2 separate regions of the Homo sapiens genome follow, and region 1 is linked to region 2. The links are contacts of gene promoters, found by promoter capture Hi-C in blood cells and fetal thymus (Javierre and others, 2016). All regions are on one chromosome and are shown on one strand. The core of a region is centred on a gene start or on the middle of the fragment in contact, and the rest is flanking DNA. Distances in the headings are between cores, read along the strand shown.

Region 1 (7,685 bases), core at 2,875-5,374, 7.2 Mb before region 2:
ACCTGTAATGCTTGTTTTTGATTCATTCTTTCTTGCCATTCTTTTTCATCTTCCTCTTCTGAACTGAAAGTCAAACATACTTTTACGATATCTATGATTTTTAAGGACCCCTTACAAAAATACTTGTATGCAAGGCTCTGCTCGTTATACGGGCTACAGTGGTGAATAAAACAGCAAGATCTGTGCCACTACTGGTCTCATGGTCTGGTGGGGGACACGTGTAAGTAAGCAATTAGAGTGGGATCTAATAACTTCCACCACAAGGGAAGGGCAGGTCACTAGAGATGCAATAGGGAGTCACCTCACCCAATTTAGGAGTCACAAAAGCTTTCCAGGATCTCCTGCAATTACACTGGTTGGAGTTAGCCACGAATTAATGAGTGTAGTTGTAGGGAGCGGGAAGGTTCATGGAGAAGAGTGTTCCAGGCAAAAGAACTAAGTTGTATGACCATATAGAAACAAGGAAAAGAAAGCCTGCCTGTGGATGATGTGAAGAAAGGCAGGGATAAGACTGGAAAGTGTAATTAAGGAGTTAAAGTTTTATCCTAAAGAAATGAGAAGCTAAGCTGCGTGTGGTGGCTCACGCCTGCAATCCCAGCACTTTGGGAGGCCGAGGCAGGTGGATCACTTGAGGTCAGGAGTTCGAGACCAGCCTGGACAACATGGTGAAACCTCGTCTCTACTAAAAATACAAAAAATTAGCCAGGTGTGGTGGCACGTGCCTGTAATCCCAGCTACTCCGGAGGCTGAGGCAGGAGAATCGCTTAAACCCAGGAGGCAGGGGTTGCAGTGAGCTGAGATTGTGCCACTGCACTCCAGTCTGGGCAACAGAGACTCCATCTCAAAAAAAAAAGAAAGAAAAAAATGAGAAGGAGAAGCTAGAAAGTGTTTTAAGTAAGGAAATGACAATATCAGATTTGGATTTTAAACAGACTATAACACAAAACAGAGATTGGGCTTGGTGGGAGGAACTATTACAAAAAGGGTATGATCAAAGACAAAGACAGAAAGAAGTTTAAAAGCTAATAATGTAACCTGGAGAAAAAATGACAGTGGTAGCAATGGAGACAAATAGAACTGAGCTGATACAAAAGCTAAGTTGTCTCTTGGGAACTCCTGGGAAAGGAAGAGGTGGAGGGAAGGACAGGGGACAAAGGCAAACTGCCAAGCTTCCGGTTCTCCACCTTCACTTCAAACACAGAAACCACCAACCATTAAGAGAGAGACAGAGGAAGAGGAGTCCACAGAGAGGCTGAGCAGAAAGCGCCAGAGAGATGCCGGGGGAGCGGGGCAGTGTGGCATGGTGTTTAGTGCAGAGAAGTCGAGCACACTAAGACGTGCAAAGCGTCTGCTAGATTTAGCAACAAGAATGTCATGGGTTGTGGTATTTTAGCATCATGGTGAGAGAGACCATACTGGATTGAAAAGCAGCTAGAGACAGCATGTGTAAGCAAAGTGTAAGCAAAACTAAAATTCATGCCTTGGAGAATTTAGAATCCACAGCCCTGGCAGAAGTTCTTTAGAATGAAGAGGAATAAGAATCATGAATCACCAAAACACAAAGAATAGTAAATAAAAAATTTAGTCTTTGAAAAATATTCTGAAAGGTATAGAGCATGCCTATTTCAGATGCATTAAGAAATGTTCACATGCCTTATCATGTAGATAACACATCAAGGTTTAAATGTGTCTGAATGTAGCAATGACTAAAATAATATTCTTAAATAGTTAAACATTTACCTGTGTTTTTCTTCCTCTTGTAAAGGAGGCAAAACATAGAGGTCGTTTTCTCTTCGAACTTGGGTAAGACTGGGTAGTGCTTCATCTCTGGAAAGTACACAAATCTTTAAACAGATTATGCAGACCCTGCTCAGGATGGTGAACAGGGACCTGACCTGGCTGCTCTCAGGCCACTGCTGTGGAAAATAAATGCAGCCGAGAGAAAGGAAGGAACCTTGGCGGGGCTGCTCACCTAGAGTCAAGAAGACCATAATCAAAGTAAAAAGTGTACATGACGCAACACGACAGCTTTTTTTTCTCATTAGCAAAGTTGATTCTCACAGAACGGAGAATTGCCACAACTCCAAATTACCAGGTCAAAATGGCAGCCTACTTGTCTCATTTCACTCTCTATTTTCTGTTGAGAGTCAAAATTAGATAGGGAAAGAGAATCGCAGGAAATCAAGACAAAAATCACTTTTTTAAAACTTCATCTCTAACACGACTATAATTTTCCTCTTGCCTTTTGCTTCTGAAGGCAGTTTTGATGGCTTGTCTTTTCAAAAATGTTTTCAGAAGCTTCTCTGTCGTTTTCCTGGAGTCACTGGACGCTAAGTCCTTTCTCTGCCTTCTCTTCACCTATGAGAAGAAAGGATGTAAGATCTCACTTCAGGATATTAGACCACTAGAAACATTGCTGTGATTTATTTTCCAGAGAATTTGGTTTGTCTGAGTTTTCAGACTATGGCTGCTTTAGCATTTCCTCCTAATTGCCATATCAGTGTATATCTTCAGGTTGCTGCTACGTAAAGGACACCCAGAGTTTCCATCTATTACTTAATGGGCTACTACACAATATATTTGGGAAACTTAATTTACTTTCAGTTTCTTTTAAATGTCTTTTAATATGCCCAAGAAGTGGAAAGCTTAAATGCTTCCCAAAAGAAATTATTTATTTATTCTATAAAATGTCACAGTGACACCAAAAACAATTTCTAATATTGCTTTTTATAAACATGCATTACTTACATGTAATTCTGCCCTTCAATATTCAAGATTATATATCATGAGAAATTCTAAAATGTATAGAAATATCTTGTAAGAAATGTTCAAGTAGTGACAAATGGATAGTCCCTGTGCTTATGGCTGAATATCGGATAAAAATAACCAAGATATTCTCTTTTCCTTTCTAATCCTTCCACAAAGTACCTGATTTACAGTATGCCTTGGGTAACTGAAAACTGCAACATTCAAGACTAGACACTCTTACTGAGGCAACAAAGGTCCCCCAGCATTTATAAATGCTTTTTATTTTTATCCTATATCCTTACTTTTATCCTATATCCTCATTTAGAGAGTATCTGGTATGATTACAAAGTCATCATTTCATTACTTTGGTATTTTCAACAAATAAAAGTCATATATCCAAATGGGTGCTGTCATTTGGACTGTTTAAACATTATTTTATGTCATTTTTTTAGAGATGGGGTCTCCCTGTGTTGCCCAGGCTGGACTTGGGCTCAAGCAATCCTCCTGCCCCCGGCCTTCCAAAAACATTTTTTAAAACTACTTCCAGAACAATAAAGCAGCAACTCATTCTGACTCTTCTATATCATGGTCAATTTCCTTCCTAGATAATCCACTTTAGTCACCACTTGGCACCACATAACATTGCTTACTCCTAAAATCCAATTCCCCTTAAAAGAAGGCTTGCTATCACGGAGGATACTTGATCTCAGATTCAGGGAGGCACTTCCCAAAAGAGGGTTTCCACAGTGTTCTGAGTGATGGCCGCATCCTTGAAATAAATATAAAACACCTAACAAGATCCTCTGAAGGGAAAACTCTCAACAGCAAGGTTTTTAGTAGTTAGTTTTATTTAAAAGTTAAATTTTATCATTGTACCCATGATGAACTCTCATAAAACTTTTTAAAAGAAAAATTAATTGTTCAAGATAAAAAAGTAGATGTAATTAAGTATGTGTCAAAATAAGTCTGTTTCTAAAATTCTAAAGAGAAAACAAAAATTTTATGTGAATTTTTCTAAGAATGCAGAAAGAAAAAAATTATTTGACACTTACTAAAAACTATACGACACTTACCAAAGTCTGTTTCTTCAATAGTGGAGCATCCCCATCAAACACAAAAATAGGACGAATTCGAAAAAATAAGAGTTTGCAGAGCCGATGAAACAAAGTGAGAAGATGAGGATTTTCTATTGAGTTCCCATGGCGATCCCGGACTCCTTTAAGTGCTTGGTTTAACCAAATGCTAATATCTGGGAGAATTGTTAATGGAAAAAACTCCGGGATTTTTCTCTTCATCCTCACAACTTCAATTTCCTAATAACTGATATTATCCAAACGTTGAACACTAAATACTTATCACTATTCATTTAAAATTGAAAAACATTTAGCTCTCATGGGATCTACCTAAAGTCAGTTAACTTTTAGTTGAACTCTTGTTACCCCTATTCACATACTGCATTTTAAAATCATACAAAGACAGACATATCCTTTTAAGAAGTCTCATTGCAAAGAATTGCTTCTTTAAAAAAAAATAAGTGATTGCTAAAGAATTTTCATGAATTAGCACAAATTTTCTGGAGGACAATTTGACAATTCATAGTGAAAAAAACTTTTTAAAACTTTGCAGTCTATTTTACCACTTCCAGACATTGATCCTCAGAAAATCATCATGGATATATAATGAGAGTTATTTACAGAATGCTTGTTTATAATAATGAAAATATAAAAATCAACTTAAAAGTTTTCCAGCAGGTCTTTTTAAAAAACTAATCATAGGCCGGGCGCGGTGGCTCACACCTGTAATCCCAGCACTTTGGGAGGCCGAGGCAGGTGGATCACGAGATCAAGAGATCGAGACCATCCTGGCCAACATGGTGAAACCCCATCTCTACTAAAAATACAAAAATTGGCTGGGCATGGTGGTGCGCACCTGTAGTCCCAGCTACTCAGGAGGCTGAGGCAGGAGAATCGCTTGAACCCAGGAGGCAGAGGTTGCAGTGAGCCGAGATCGCGCCACTGCACTCCAGCCTGGTGACAGAGCAAGACTCCGTCTCAAAAAAGAAAAACTAATTATGGCAGACCTATTTGCTGGAATACCAAAAAGCCCTTAAAAATGGAAGTTGCAGGAGCATGTGTGATAAGGAAGATAGTCATTAAATATTATTAAAGATAGTAAAACAGGCTATAAAACCATATAAAGTATAACTCCATTTTCTGATACAGTATATATGTTAAATATAAAAAACTAGTTCACATACCAAAATATTAAAGTAGATATTATGTCTGCTGAGACTAAAGATAACTTATATTTTCATCTTGAAGTTTTCTTATATTTTTAAACTTTTCTAAAAAGTGCTTCTCAAAAAATGTTATATTTGTCCAAAAGAAAGAGTGACACCGCGCTCTGCTGGTTTTCCTGCTCTCAGACTCTTTGCCAGCTCCTGTAACACTGTTAAAGTATTCACTTCATCAGTGATCTTTCTCAGGCCCTCTTCTTTCCTCCTGTCTGAACTATCAACCTCCACTCCCCTCCACATACACCACGCCCTGACTCCATGTATATGTCTGGCCCAGAGCACGCTCCTGACCCCAGAACAGAGAGCCCAGATGACGTCTCTACCCCATACCTCATAGACATTTCAAACTTAACATGATCAAAACTGAACTCCATGTCTTCTCCACTCAGCTGCTCATGCCCCCATCTCAGTGAATGTCCCTGCCATTCACCTGAGCCAGAATGCTGGGCATCACCACCTATAGCTATTACCAGGTCTATCAATTCTATCTTCTAATGTATCTTGAAGGTATATACTAGATTTCACCAACGTATCTTTGGTGAAAACCCTCCAAAGCTTCCCACTGCCTTCAAGATACTATCTAAAACTTCTTCTCCTGGTCTAGGAAGCCTTGAATGATCTGGCCTCTGCTCACTTCCTGCTACTGGGCTTTCCTCAAACCCAGAAATCACTAAGCTCCTTCCTGCCTCCAGGTTCTTCTCACATGCTGCTTCCTCTGCCTGAAACAGTTTCTCCCTCTCTCCGCCTAGTTCTCTCCTACTCTAAGGTCTCAGTCCAGGGGTCCCCTCCTCAGTCTAGATGAAGACATCCTCCTTGTATACATTCCTATTTAAAAAATATATTGAGGCCGAGTGCGGTAGCTCACACTTGTAATCCCAGCACTTTGGGAGGCCAAGGCGGGCAGACCACCTGAGGTCAGGAGATCGAGACCATCCTGGCCAAAATGGTGAAATCCTGTCTCTACTAAAAATACAAAAATTAGCCAGGCATGGTGGCGTGTGCCTATAAGGCTGAGGCAGGAGAATCGATTGAACCTGGGAGGCGAAGGTTGCAGTGAGCCAAGATCACGCCACTGCACTCGAGCCTGCGTAACAGAGGGAGACTCTGTCTCAAAAAAAAACAAAAAGAAAAAAAAAACAGAGAGAAACCTGGACTGATGCTAATATTTGCAGGTAAATTTCTAACATAGGAAAAGAACATTGAAGGGGCCACCTATCACGTTATTTCTGTTTTTATTATGTGGCAGCATTTTTTCTATGCACTGGCATATCCAGTGCACTGAACAAAACACAGTATTGGCCCTATGGAGTTTATAATCTAGCAGGGAAAAAACCCAGCCTGTGTGCTCCATGGCTTGCCCGGGCAATTTGTGCACTGCACTCCCTTTCACAGGGACTCTTATACACAATAAATATCTGCTATTAAATAAGTTGAACAGTTTAGTATTTAAATGAATGTACACTGCCTAACTTTTACTAACATAAAAAAAAATGTAGGTCCATCAACAATTAATTTACAAAACACTATGTAACAAAATACCTAGTGGAAAGCAAGCTACTGCTATGCTTATTTCTATAATATTTAGCAATACCATGGGCCAGGCATATCCAAGACCCTAGGGATATACACCAAACAATTCAGCCATGAACAAAACAGAGACGGTCCCTATCTCCAGGAAGCCAGTGCAGCAGGACAAAAGGAATGGCAGGAGGTGATACGGCCACTGGGAAGTTTCTAGAACATGATTTAAGGATAACTTTGATGAACATGTGAAGAACAGATTATAAGGAAACCAGTTCTAAAATGAGTTACAATAGCCCAAGTTAACGCAGACAGTAGTGGTGGAGACCACGAGAAGAGATCGGATAAAAGATACATCTCAGAGGTAGAACTTGGTGTTGATGTGCATCTGTCTTGTATTAGATCGATGTTTCTGCTTGCTACAAGTATAGTCTGGAAAAGCCATGAAGCTCACTATTACATAGGATTAAATTAGTTTCTACTTGGCCCACTACTTTAAACTTTAACTTCAGTGAGGAAATCTAGTTTCAGATCAGTGGCTCTCATCCCTGCTATCCATTAGAATAGGATATGAAGCTTCTGAAACATACGGATTATTAAACCCCATGGGCCTAAAATTCTAAATCATAGAGACTGAGGTAGGACTTCTTTTATTTTTTATTTTTCAATTAACTACAGGTAATGCCAATTCTCAGCTAGGGTTGAGAATTTTGGCTTGAATTCTTAGAGATGAAATATGTAAAATTAGACGACCTGAAAATATTCACATAAATTGTTAGACAAGAAATATGAAAAATGAGACAATCTGAAAATATTTGTATAATTTGACTTGTCTAATTTCAGTAAGTTTATATACGCAAAATTAAATTTCTGCGGACAGAAAAGTTAAAATCTGCAGCAAAGCCAAAAATCACTTTCGGTATAAGACCCAAAGACCAATAACATTTCAATACAAAAAATAAGTTTCTTTAGTTCTTTAGTTAGGTGACTTAAAAATCTCCATTAGTATACATAGCCTAAAGAGATGGTAATATCTTGCTAATACACTTAAACGCATATTACAAACATTAAAATCTATAAGAGACAAAAGTTTAACTTACTTCTGCATTATTTGACACAG
Region 2 (7,312 bases), core at 2,726-5,225:
TTCACAAATGCATGTCTTAAACCCTAAGTGGTCTGTAAACTCAAAAGCAAAAGCCATGAGTTCTATGCTACGTATATATACCTCACCAAAGAGCAATATAGTTAGTAAAAGCCTTTGCTGACTGATTAAATGAGTCTTCTCCATATTCCAGAACTCCAAATGATACAAACTCATCAGATTTAATTTTTTTAAGTAGCTTTCTAAAGATATGGAAAGAAAAATAAATCTATGGTTGAAATGTTTGCGTTCTGAAGAGCAGGTGAATGGGTTCCCATGATACTTCCATATAAACAAAGATTAACTGCAGGACACTAATCAAAAGAGACCACAGCAGTAGAAATTAAACTTAACAACAATTAATTAACTTCATATGGGAAAATAAAACCTAATTACTACAGTGCATCCCCTCCCAGAACAACTTCCCCTACCTCACAGAATGAAAACCACTGCATTTCCAGGCAGTTTCTCAGCAAATACTAACTATGTCAAGAGAACTGGAACTTTGATACTACTGCTAACTACAGCCTATCTTATTAAAGAATTTAAAATAATTCTAGAAAATATGTGACCACCTTTTATGATACTTAATTTATTTAAATTACTTAAAGTCACTCATTTTTGCTACTTTATTCTTTCCCTATTTAGATAATGTCAAGAAAATCCTAGAAAAGACAAAACATACCTTTAATAGGTTAGGTTCAAATAAAACTTATCATGGTTCAAATAAAACTTATCACAATATTTTATACGTATAGATTTTCAACTATATATTTTCAACTATTCTTTTCCCCATGGCCAAAATATATGGTTTAATCAGCTCAATGAAATAAAGAAAAATTGGGTCCAGATAGCATGTTAAGGAAGAAAAAGAGATAAAACTATGATAAGAGAAAAAAGGTTTCGTTCCCAGGCTGTGTTGCTACTCAAGTCACCAAGAGGACAAACCATTAGCAAAGAAATGAAATAACTTCCTTATCTGTAACATGAGAATACTAAAGCAGATACTACTAAAGTTTTCTTTCTATTCCAAAAATTCGATCTCATCTAGTGCTTTAGACTTCACTCTTTCAAACGCCTTTGAGAAGGGAGGGTGCCAAAAGACTCAAACTTTCAATTCATGATATATACTTTCTGTCTCTGGATGACAATTAACAGAAAAATCTAGAAGAAAACAAAGGCAAATATTTCAAAATCAGAAAAACACTAGGTTATCTCTTCCCCATCCTGTGCCACTCTTAGTTCCACATTCACTTCTCTCATAACCATTCTCCTTCATTTCTTTTTTTAAAAGTGAATTGTATTGTATATATTTGATGTTTACAACATAGTATTATGAGATATACACACATAAAATGGTTACAATAGTGAAGCAGATTAATAAGAGTGAAGCAGATTAATATATCTATCATCTCACATAATTACTTTTTGTGTGACAAGAGCAGCTAAAACCTACCTATTTAACAAAAATCCTTAATACAACACAATTTTATTAAGCCTCAGGCCTAGCAGTAGCACCATTTGCCTTTCAGAGAACTATGAGATTAGTGAATCCAGACACAATTTATTTGGGAAAACAGGGGCTAACGGTTTGCTAATTCAAGTCAGAGTTCTTACCTTTATATCCCTATCACCAAATCCAGTGTCAAATACATAGCAGACACCTAATTTAACTCCTCTATATAATTTATTACACCAGTGGTTCTCAAGTGTGGTCATCCAGGGTCTTTCTAGAAACGCAAAATTTCAGGTCCCATCAAGACCTAATGAATCAAACTCTGTAAGTGGGGTACAGCACTCTGTTTTAAAAAGCCCTCCATGTGCGATTCTGATGCACACTCAAGTTTGAGAACCACTGTATTAAACCTCCCAGGAAATAACCTTCTTGTTAATTACAAAAAAAAAAAAAAAAAAAAAGTGCTGATTTTTTTTCTCAGCTGCCATCACTTAAAAGTGCTTGGACTCACATGATGTTGTCAACTACTTAACTTCTGTCTCCAGCGTGCACACAAAATGAACTTTAGTAAAACCTTTGGAGCCTCAGTTCCCTGGTCTGTAAAGTAGGAATGAATACCACACGCTTTCGTGAATAAGATATGGCTTACAGAAAGGCTCCTTTCTTTCCTTTTTCTGTTACCTGTACTAAGTCCCTGCTATTTTACACAGACAATGGTCCTAAAGAAGACACTCTGGCACTCCTCTGAGAAATGTCACCAGTGCCTCCTACACAGAAAAGCTCTCAAATGTGGTTTTCTTATGGAAAATACCACAGGAGGGAAATGAAGAGTTAAGAGTCCTTACAGACTCATATACAGAACAGCAATTCTAAAAAGTAGTGGGAAAAGCAATCATTCAAAATTGTGCATCTCTGTAACTTAAAAAAAAAAATCACCATTAAACAGAACATAGGCAACTTTCTCTTAAGTGTCCAAAATAAATTATTAATGATAACTGGAGATAAATACTACAGATGAGGGATGGTGGGGTGCGGGGGCAGGAGGAATGAAGCTTTTGAAAATGCAAAAGAACTAGAATATATGACCCATATTAAAGTGGTACAGACCTTCAAATTCCAATCCCCTAGATTTTTCTGGGGGCAGCCTCACTGTCAAATTCTTTGTCCCAATGTTGCCACACTACGTGTTCTGATTTGGGGTTCAAAAAATATGGTTACCAGGGGAAGCAAAAGCAAAAGCCCATTGCTATGGGTGACACCTAAAAACTGGGGAGTACTACTTTAAAAAAAAAAGTTGAGAACTTTCAGAAGAATTCACTATAAACAATTCCCAATTTTTAGTTCCTCGCTCCCTTTGAATGGAATACTCAAAGGTTTAATTTGACCTCCTTGACAACTAGCCCTTTTTATGGGGATGAAAATAGATCAGTGCATGTGATGTGTCATTACACTCGAATATTTCGCACAGTAACCGCGCCAGAAGCATTCGTTAAATCGGCACTATCAACTTTAATTCTTACTCCTCCCCGCTGCCATCTAAGATAGGACAGCCCTCTATTTTCGCTATTCTGGAGTAGCCAACATTCCAGTCTGCAGGACTGAAGTGAAATTTAATCGTTCGTATCTTTTTAAGGGAACCTTTTTACAGCGAACTTGGAAAAGTAATGCCAGCCATACGTTGAATGACACCATGTTGGGAGTTGTAAAACCACAAACTCAGTGCCTGGCCGTCCGGGAGATGGAATTCCAACAGCGGCTCCTCATTGCACCAAACTAACAATTTCTCTACACGACAGTGCATCTTAATGGGGATGGTTACACACTTTTTAAATAGTCAACACTGTCCCCTCCAACTCCCAGCCGGACATGACACTCCTTCCCCACCCAAGAACTCCAGAGCGAAGGAAGTCTTTTGGCCACCTTAGTGCCTCCTCCCAGCCAGCACCAATGACTGACAGTGTCCCCAGGCGCCCAGCGAGGGTCCCAAGCGAGGCCAGGACCCAAAGGCTGCCCAAGTCTCCGCGTCCCAGGACTTCCTGAAGTCGTAGCCCGGTGCCCCCGCACCCCGCCTCCTCCGACTCCTGCGGCCCGGTTCCTTAGTCCAAACCCGCTGTCCCGGCCCCGCGGCCCGCCAGTCCCCTCGATTCTTCCCCAGACAAACCCGGAACCGGGCGCGGGCTCAGGCCCAAGCCAGGCCGCGGGCTCCCCCAGCGCTCGCCCCACCTCCCGAGCCGCTCCGGGACAGGCGCCCGGGCGCAGACGGGAAAGCGCGGGGGGCCTGGTCCGGGAGCCCACTTCCTGGCCGGGGCAGGGCAGGACTCACCTTCGTACTGCAGATCCACCAGGACTAGCAGGAAGGGGAATACCGAGCCCAGCCGGCTGGTCACGGAGCCGGGGGCCACCATGTCCGAGGGCTCGCGAGTGAAGAGGAGGAAAGGTGTGTGGCCCACCAGCACGCGCCGGCGCTCCGGCAGCAGCTGCGCCCGCCCGCCGTCGGCTCTCGCTCAGGCCTCAGTGGCTCTGGAGCCCAGCAGAGGAAGGCAGCGGTGGGCGGGGCCCGGGCGACGCTACGCCCCAGAGCGCCGCCGCCATCCAATCGCCTTCTTTCTGGCGGCTTTCCTCCCGGGCTCGCCGGGGTCGTGGTTCGCGCTGATAGGCTGCGGAGGCCGCCGCCCCGCCCCGTCCCTGATAGGATAACGTGGAAGCACGAGACGAGGCTGCGCCCGCCGGTCGCAGAGCTGTCAGCAAGCTCCAAACCGCGGCTGCCGCCCGGAGGGAAGCAGACGGGGAGTCGGTGGCGGCCGCCGAGTCCGCATGCGCAGGCTGCAAAGGCCCTTTTGGGCCGGTCCCGCCGCGCTAGGTTGGCGAGTGGGACTATTTGATCCTTTCCAGGTTCGCCAGCGTGGTGTTACGAGAGGAAAGCGCAGCCGCAGCGTACGAATGGGAAGGCCAAACACGGTCCCGGGGAGTCTGAGGGAAGCTGCAGGGCGCCTGGAATTGGGGTCTCGAGTGAGCCGGTAAAAACCGCCTCCCGCTGAGCGTCCCGGAACAAATACTGTCTGAACTGAGCCGTAAGCAAGAAACGGTCAGGAGAAGCTGGGGCGATCTGATGATTAGAACATTTCAGGGACTACCAGAGAGAAGTGCGTAATTGCTCTAAGGCAGGTAGGTAATTGGCCTGGAAACTTGGGAACGCCCCGCCCCCCACCCCGACTTTCAGCAAACCACCGTGCCCAGGAAAAAGAGCGATTGTGGAAGACCCTGTGAAGAAGAGACCAGGAAGGCACTGTGGCTTAAGAGAGCAAGGCGTTCCTGAATGCAGCCAACATCAACTGGTAAACAAAAAACTGTGAGAACGGATCCTGAATCTTGCGCTTACCAGGGGAAATTCAGGAGAGATATGAACCTGAGCAAGATGAGGTTGAAGTTACTCAATGCGGCATTAAGCCTGTTCACGGCCACTTCCTCCGGCGTCACCAACACACACACTGTACACCAGCAGTATTTTTACACGGGGTATGTGTGTTAAGTACTATCAGGTGGATAATTATTACTTCACCTGTATTTGCTGCCTTGATACCATTAGAGAAACTCATGAATTATAAATAGCATAGTGAATTTGTGATTCCCTGAAGATATACTAAGGTGGACTTTTAAAAAGGCTTCTATTCCAAAGGGAACTAATATGGAGGAAATGGTTTCGAGAAAGAAAAAAGAAAAAACGGAGTCCTTGATTAGTTGTGGGGAAGGCAACATAATGTAATGTGAAGAATAAAGGAGTCAGATCCAGGAAACCCCATAACTATTATGTAAGTTATCTTCATCTGTAAAGTGGTTAGGATCCTGATAGTCTCAAAGGTTTGTTTTGAGGTTTCATGAAGCAGATAAATATTCTTGTAAATTGTAGAATGTTATACCAGTGTTACTCATTATTCTAACAAGAGCAGAGTAGTGAAGAGAGGCTCCTTCAGAAATTCCTTGGGATTTTTTTTTTTTTGGCTTCTGTTTTTTTATATCACAAGGTAGTGTCTCTGAAAAATGGTAGATGATTTCAATGTCCACAAATATGCAGGTGTAGACATTCAATTGAGGTACTGTACCCAAGGCAGCCAGCAAAATGCTGAACATAGAAAATAACTTTGTAAACAAAATGCAATATTTCTAGACAGTGAGTTATCACCAGTGTGCTGCCTATGACCCTGGCCTTAAGGAAAAAGTAGCAGAGCTGAAGAAGTTCTAAGGATGGAAATTAAAAATTATTAAGGAGATAATAGACTTCGTGTTATAGGAAATAAAAATAGCAAGGGTCTTCAATGGTGAGTGATTTTGAGATTAATTACATAACTATGAATTCTGTAATATTAGAACTAAGCTTTACAAAGCATTCCTTAAAAAAAGATAATTTTACAACAAAGGTAACATTAGACAGAAAAAAATGTACAAAACTAAAATTAAGTGATTAATGCTTGGGAATGTTTCCTCCAATGTTCATCTAGTCATGGTTTTCACGAATCACTCTTGCCAATAAAACCGAAAATCAAAGTAATCTAGTGAGTGTAAGAAAAGTTACTGTAAATATGTTTGCATTCGTCAGACTCTATGGAGTCTTTTTGAAGTTAAACATTAAATCTCCACTGTAATTCATACTGTTAATTATAGTAGCAAAAGACTTAAAAAACAATGGTAGCATATTTATGATATATCCAAAATTAAGAGTATTATGCAATTTTTATTAGGTTGATCTATGTTTATTGACTAGGAAAAACAATGTTGGTAGAGAGGAGTGAACAGATCTAGAACATATTTTGTAGGTAAAGGGAATAAGATTTGTTTAGGAATTAACTATGAGGAGAAATAAATGTTCAGAAACAAGTAGAGCACTTATAAACACCTTTTTGTGCCAAATTAAGAACAAAAAAGTCAGCATTAAGTTAATGCCACCATATACATCCTTCCACATTTATGTTTACAAACTTGTGCTTTTATTTCTAGGAAACATTTCTAGGCTGGGCGCAGTGGCTCACACCTGTAATGCTAGCGCTTTGGGAAGCCAAGATGGGAGGATTATTTGAGGCCGGGAGTTTGCGACCAGCCTGAGCAACATAGCAGGATCCTGTCTCTGCAAAAAAATTTAAAACTAGCCAGGTGCGGTGGCTCGTGCCTGTTGCCCTAGCTACTCAGGGAGACTGAGGCAGAGGATTGCTTCAACCCAGGAGTTTGAGGTTGCAGTGAGCTAAGATCATGTCACTGCACTCCAGACTGAGCAACAGAGTGACACTTTATAAAAAAAAAAAAAAAAAAAACTAGGTTTTTGAACTTGCTTAATCAAAGAATTTGTTTAAACTTTTAAGATGCGTTGTCAGATTATCTTTCCCTAAAGGAATAATTTCTATTCCTATCAGCTGTTTATATTCCTGCCTAGTCACCATCACTAGATATAATTGATTTTCAGTTTTTGCCAATCTGAGGAACAAAAAATGACCCTTATATGTCAAATTTACAGTTTATTTTCAAGGATTTTGGGATTCTGATCAAATTTTGGTACCTTCATATAAAATTTGGCTTTTATATCACATCTTGTCTTCTCTGCTTTCCACCCTCTTTTATGTTGTTTTTTGGCTTCTGGCCGCATGACTATAATCTCCGCTTTTGTATTCACATCACCTTCTGTCATTTTTGACCTTGCCTCCGTCTTACAAGGATCCTTGTAATTAATTATATTGGGCCTGCTGAGATAATCCAGGATATTCTTCCTACTCAAGTTCCTCAATTTAATCACATCTGCAAAAACTGCCTTTTGCTATAGAACAATGACAGGAGATTAGAATGTAAACATATTTGGGGGACCGTTATTCAGCT

Evidence for each region. Contacts are between HindIII fragments. The CHiCAGO score rates a contact against its expected background, and 5 or more counts as called.
Region 1: a contact is called between a fragment that was not itself captured here and the fragment with the promoter of DNAJC3 in region 2, in 1 of 17 cell types (non-activated CD4 T cells). The highest score is 5.3, in non-activated CD4 T cells.

What each region holds. Positions count from the first base shown.
Region 1 is chr13:102,848,430-102,856,114 of GRCh38, reverse strand. BIVM-ERCC5 (BIVM-ERCC5 readthrough) reads right to left here. Exons shown (of 23, transcript NM_001204425.2): 10 at 3,822-3,997; 11 at 2,243-2,358; 12 at 1,741-1,827; 13 at 3-63. ERCC5 (ERCC excision repair 5, endonuclease) reads right to left here. Exons shown (of 15, transcript NM_000123.4): 2 at 3,822-3,997; 3 at 2,243-2,358; 4 at 1,741-1,827; 5 at 3-63. Among named protein-coding and RNA genes, the nearest start is that of ERCC5, 6.2 kb to the right of the region's middle. The HindIII fragment of the contact is 2,954 bases long and covers 2,648-5,601 here.
Region 2 is chr13:95,673,802-95,681,113 of GRCh38, reverse strand. DNAJC3 (DnaJ heat shock protein family (Hsp40) member C3) reads right to left here and starts at 3,975. Exons shown (of 12, transcript NM_006260.5): 1 at 3,777-3,975. The coding sequence starts at 3,858. DNAJC3-DT (DNAJC3 divergent transcript) reads left to right here and starts at 4,189. Exons shown (of 2, transcript NR_132117.1): 1 at 4,189-5,262; 2 at 6,446-7,312. RefSeq lists silencers at 3,595-3,684, 3,915-4,154 and enhancers at 3,795-3,844, 3,191-4,037, 4,675-4,774, 4,038-4,885. The HindIII fragment of the contact is 3,320 bases long and covers 2,508-5,827 here.